2 separate regions of the Homo sapiens genome follow, and region 2 is linked to region 1. The links are contacts of gene promoters, found by promoter capture Hi-C in blood cells and fetal thymus (Javierre and others, 2016). All regions are on one chromosome and are shown on one strand. The core of a region is centred on a gene start or on the middle of the fragment in contact, and the rest is flanking DNA. Distances in the headings are between cores, read along the strand shown. Region 1 holds the start of DEF6 (DEF6 guanine nucleotide exchange factor). Region 2 overlaps ARMC12 (armadillo repeat containing 12).

Region 1 (2,700 bases), core at 154-2,653:
ATGTAAGGAAGAATCTGCCTGTTAGGAGGTTCTCCCTAGGTGACAAAAGATAGTAGTGGGCTCTCCTTCCTGGGGGAGTGAAATCATCTATTAGATGCTCACAAATCCAGGTAAGGAATTTAACATAGGACCAGTTTGGGATATTCAAGTTCCTCACATCCAAGTTCAGTAAAGTAGGGGGTTGGAACGGTGGTGGGGCACAATAACTGTTCTGTCCCATTCATCTCTCAGGTATCCAGCACCCTCTACCTCGGTCATTAAGAATGGAGGTTTCCTTGAGACCACACGTCTCCTTTGGAGGATGGGGCAGGGAGACACCAGTTTAGTGCCTAGCCACATGCCAGGCACAGAGCCTCACGAGGGGCACTCAAGTACTTGCAGAGTGAACGAAGGCACCCCTATGGCAGGTCCTAGAGAGCTGAGGCCTACCTTGCTCCTTTCCCCCAGTGTTCGCTGATTCTAGTGGCTGAGGGCCTTGCTTCCTCCCCACTAACTAGGGTAGGGAAGGCAGCACTACTGGAGGACTAGAGGAAGAGAGAGAAAAACTCCTTGGCCTCCCAGAAATTGTCTAGGCCAGATGATTGACTTCAGGACAATCATTGATTGGGATTTTCCTGGGCTTAGATTCTCCCCCTTCCCTACCTGAGGTCTCAAGGCCTAAGGTAAGTTTCCCAACCTGATATGTGTGGTGGATAGGGGGGTGAGCTGCGTAGCAGTATAATAGGGTCCTCAGTCCTCACCCACTCCGCAGCTCTGTCCCACCTGGCGGGCAGGGTTAGACAGGCCAGACAGGTTTGGGACTGGGGGCGGCCCCTTTATGCCTCTCTCAGCTCCAGAGGAAATGACTGCCAAGCACTGGCTAACTGTTTCTCTTGAAAGTCAGGAGGAAGCAGCAAGAAAGAGCACACTGCGTGCCCAAGCATGACTCTGTGGAGGTGTGTGTGCTCATCACACAGAGTCTGGGATGTGGCCTGGCTCCTGGCCCTCAGAACCCCATAATGGCCCTCAGAACCTCCTGGCCTCCAGTTGTGGGGCCCAGTTCTGCGCAAGGTTTCTGCACACACTTCACTAGGTCTCTGGAGGGTGGGCAGCGGCATCTACCAGGCTACGTTGGCCCAGTTACCCAGGACCAGCCCCCCGACCCCAGGCCCGGGACGCTGGATGGCTGGGTGCCCCTGGAGTGGCACAGTGTCCACACCTGGCTCCCAGGCGGCAGGGGCTGGTGTGGTGCATCTGCCGTCCTCCCCCGGGTCCCGGGTGCCCCTCACCTTGAGCTGGGACTTGGAGACTTTGCCACTCTTCTCCACGTCCAGCGCGGTAAAGGCGTACCAGATGGACTTGAGCAGTTCCTTGCGCAGGGCCATGGCTGAGGCGCCCGCCCGGCTGGGGGCGGCTCTGACACTAAGATCCGGTTTCAGGAAATGCAAACGGCTGCAGAGACCGCAGAGGTGCCGTGGTGGAGCGAGAGCACCACCTGCCTGCACATTGCGTGAGGCTCTGTGCTGTCGAGAACCCTGCCTGTTGTTCTGGCAGTGCTCAGAGGCTCCACTCCCTGCATGGGAACTGGGGACCAACTCTCCGAGAGCGGGAACCCTCGTTCTGTATCCACGTGGCTCCCGGGGCATGTGAGGCCCTTTTAGAAGCCTCCTCAGACCCGGAGGCTTCTGGAGCCTTCCAGGGCTCCCAGACGCAGCTTGCTGAGGGAAAAAGCAAGCTCATCCTGATATTGGGGTCAGACAGAGTAAAGGTCCAGTCCTAGTTCAACATAGGAGGCCTTGGGTAAGTTACTTAACCTCCTTGAGCAGTTTCCTCATTTGTAAAGCAGGAAAAATGCCTCCGTGTTGTAAGAATGTCTGAGAATGGACGTAAAGCACATAGTAGGCTCTGGGTAGAGCTTTTGGTGCTACTTAACATTACCATGGTGGTGGGACTCCATCCAAGTGGAAGGAAACAAAGGCAACATCACAAAGCTGGAGAAGGAAATGGGCCAGGGCACCTCTCCAGGTCAGGATGTGGCACTTGACTTGCTGGCTCCCTATCCCCTCAGCACTGGCTCTAAACGGTACTCAGAGCACTGCCCACTCTAGCCCCAGTAGCCCTGAAGACACTGGAAACTTCCTGAAACACATGGGGGTGAGCCTTGTGGTGCACCTCAACTTTAAGGGTCCCAGCAGCAGCAGGCTTGGGATTCAGGGCCCTCCATGTCAGTGCTTCCTTTCTTCAGATCCAGTGTCCAAAAGGACTGGGACACGCCCACACCAGGAATGGTGGTCACAGATGTTGAAGACATCTGCTCAGGCCAATTCTAAGACACCTCCCCCTACCCCCTAAGCCAAATAAAAATCCCTCCAAGTAAGGTGCTGGGAATACCTCCTGCCTGGAAGCACGCCCCCGCCCCTCTCTTCCCAAGGAGCTGGTGGCAAGAGTAAATGGGAGCTTTCTAGGCATCCTGGGAGAGGATGCCTGGATCAGAGGAGGGGGTTCCAATCCTAGGAGGCAGGAAGGGGTTGGGGCATATCCATCACAGCAGAGAGAGGAAAAGAGGCACCACCAATCCCTGCAATGTTCCTGTGTAGGCAGAGTCAAACCCAGAGCTTCTTCCCATCAAGTGCCTTCCCCTGTATCCCTTCTTCCCCCTGGAGCTGATCTGGTCTCACCAACTCACTTTTCAGTGGGGTCTGATTGTGGCTTTGAAATCCC
Region 2 (2,700 bases), core at 152-2,651, 440 kb before region 1:
TCCCAGCTACTAGGGGAGCTGAGGTGGGAGGACTGCTTGAGCCTGAGAAGTCAAGGCTGCAGTGAGCCAAGATCACGCCACTGCACTCCAGCCTGGGCGACAGAACGAGACCCTGTCTCAAAAAAAAAAAAAAAAAAAACCAGAAGGAAGCAGAGCTGCCCAATAAGGATGAATCTCTCCACGTAGCAGGGAGAAAAGGCCAACCACAGAATAGAAACCATCTACTTCCATGTACATGAAGCTTAAAAACATACCAGACTATATTTTACCTCTTTATTATCTGCTATGCCCTGCTAGAATATGCAAGGATACATACATATATGGTAAAACTACAAAGAAAATTTGGAACTGCTAAACAAAATGCAGGGTAATGACTGCCTCTGGTGGGGGAGGCAGCCAAGATGTGGGAGGGGGCTGTGCTCTATTTCTTGGCCTGGGCATGTTCTGTTTTATTGTTATTCCTTCTAACTTACACATATACAATATTTGCAAGTTTTACATATTTTATTTGTTTTTAATTTGGGAGAGATAGACTATTTGCCAGGAAGAGATGTGGAGGTCAAGGGAGAGGCTTTTTTGGTTTTGCTTTGTAAGATGGGAGGGGTTGGAGCCTACTGCATGCTGATGGGGGAGCGGAGCGTAAGCAATCAGAGAGGCCCTTAAGGAAGGGGTGGGAGGCAGGATTGAGACTATCACTGGCCACAGACCAGGAGAAAGCCATTTTTTTCATGGCAGCAGCAGGAAAGCAGGGAGGATGGGTGTGGATACTGTAAGTTTGGGGGTATGATAGCAGGGAAAGGGGGAAGTGACATGTGGTGTTTTACATTTTGTCTATGGAGTAATGGAGAAGTTATCCGTGGCCATGACACCAACCTCTGATTAACACAGGCCCAGGGGATAGAGTATAAAAAATACATCTGATCTTTGTCCCTAGTTCCAGGAACAGAGCTCCTGAAACCTTTGGAATTTCCTGAGTGACAGCAGTGTCCTTTGTTACTGCAAACCAACCCTTTTTGGTCACAACAGAGCTTATGCTAATGAAGTGACTCCAGGCAGGGTCCTTGGATAGCTTCTGGTTGCCAGAAAGACCAAAGCATGATTAGAAGGTTGGGATTTTCAGTTTTGCTCCCAACTTCTGGGGAGGGGTGAGCAGCTGGACATGATTTAATTCATCAAGACTACATAATAAAAACCTCTGACCAATGGGGTTCAAAGAGCTTCCTGGTTGCTGAACGTGTGGAGGTGCTGGGAACAGCAGGGCACTCCTGAAGTGAGCTTGTGGCAGGCCTCCATAACAACTGTTTCAGTACTGACTGCGTGGTTAAGTTAAATGTTAAAAGCCAGTGCCCTTATACAAAGGCTGGAATGTAACAAAAGCCCACCAGGAGTTTTGCCTAGGCCTTTCCTGGGCCTTAAAGCATGACAAAATTACGAAGGAATTCTTAATGGGACCCATTTAGGATTAAACAAGTTTTACTGTGGATCTGAAGAAACGCCACAGGTCTCCACAAACAAGTTTATTGGGATCTGAAGGAATTCCTCAAAACTCCTTGATTTAGCAAGAGACAAAATAAGGGTAATCACCCCAGCACCTGGACCCATTTAGATTAAGTAAATTTACTGAGGCTCCAGTGGAAGGTCTTCAGGACTCAGACCTTAGTTATAAATTAAAAGAAGTTAATCACGTCTTTAGATGAATGCACATTTACACATAGACATATAGCTTAGAAGGTATATAAGTTCTGAAAAACTTTGTAATTTTGAGTTGGTCCAGCGATAATTTCCTGGCCTTCTCCCTGTAACCGGTTACAGAAATAAAAACTCTCTTCCTCCCCAGTTCATCTGCATCTCGTTATTGGGCCAGGAGCAATAGCAGCCCAGCCCTCAGTTTGGTCCAGGAACAGGCCTGGAAGCTCCGCGCCCTGACACCCTGCCCTATGTGTCTCCTCCGTTTAGCTGTTCCTGAGTTGTGTCCTTTATATAAAAAACCAGTAATAGTAAGTAAAGTCCTTTCCTGAGTTCTGGGAGCCATTCTAGCAAATTAGTAGATCTAAAAAGGGAGTTGTGGGAACCCCCGAATTCATAGCGGGCCAGTCAGAAGTCAGACCTATGATTGGTACCTGAAGTCGGGGGGAAGTCTTGGGGGACTCAGCCCTTAACCTGTGAAGTCTGCCCTAACTATGGATAGTGTCTGAACTGAATTGAATTGTTGAACACCCAGCCAGTGTTGGGAATTGGTGTCAGAAAAAACGTGGCAGTGGTAGGGAGCTTGTGGGGTAGTGGGGGTCCTTCTCTTTGGGGTTGAGAGATACCACTAGTGCCTCAATTCAGTTTCATCCTGAAATTCAAAGGCCTTCATGACCCTGCTGGGAATCTGACCACCGTTTTCCCACTTATTTCTGGGTTACAAATTCACACCCAAACAAACTTCTGGAACATGACCATTTATCCTATGGCAATTAAAGGACTTAAGGACTATAGACATCCTGCATGCCCCACCACGCATCCCTGGGCTCACCTGGATTTTGAGCCTGAATTTTCTGATGCCAGAGAAAGCTTTAAGTGTATTCAGAGCTTGGGTTTTGACACTGTTGTCCTTGTCATCCAGCATGTAGCCCAGCAACACGATGTCATCCGTAGTACAAGCAGAGGCCTGGAGTATTGGGGAGAGATGGAAGAGGCAGGAGAAGCGGGTGTTCT

The links. The method cuts DNA at HindIII sites, captures the fragments that hold promoters and counts their contacts. A CHiCAGO score of 5 or more calls a contact.
Region 2: a contact is called between a fragment that was not itself captured here and the fragment with the promoter of DEF6 in region 1, in 2 of 17 cell types (total CD8 T cells and total CD4 T cells). The highest score is 6.2, in total CD8 T cells.

What each region holds. Positions count from the first base shown.
Region 1 is chr6:35,296,521-35,299,220 of GRCh38, reverse strand. It overlaps DEF6 (DEF6 guanine nucleotide exchange factor), which reads right to left and starts at 1,403. Exons shown (of 11, transcript NM_022047.4): 1 at 1,269-1,403. The coding sequence starts at 1,364. The HindIII fragment of the contact is 28,623 bases long and covers 1-2,700 here.
Region 2 is chr6:35,738,337-35,741,036 of GRCh38, reverse strand. ARMC12 (armadillo repeat containing 12) reads right to left here. Exons shown (of 6, transcript NM_001286574.2): 3 at 2,519-2,653. Among named protein-coding and RNA genes, the nearest start is that of ARMC12, 2.7 kb to the right of the region's middle. RefSeq lists enhancers at 683-1,290, 1,291-1,899, 2,508-2,700. The HindIII fragment of the contact is 2,315 bases long and covers 244-2,558 here.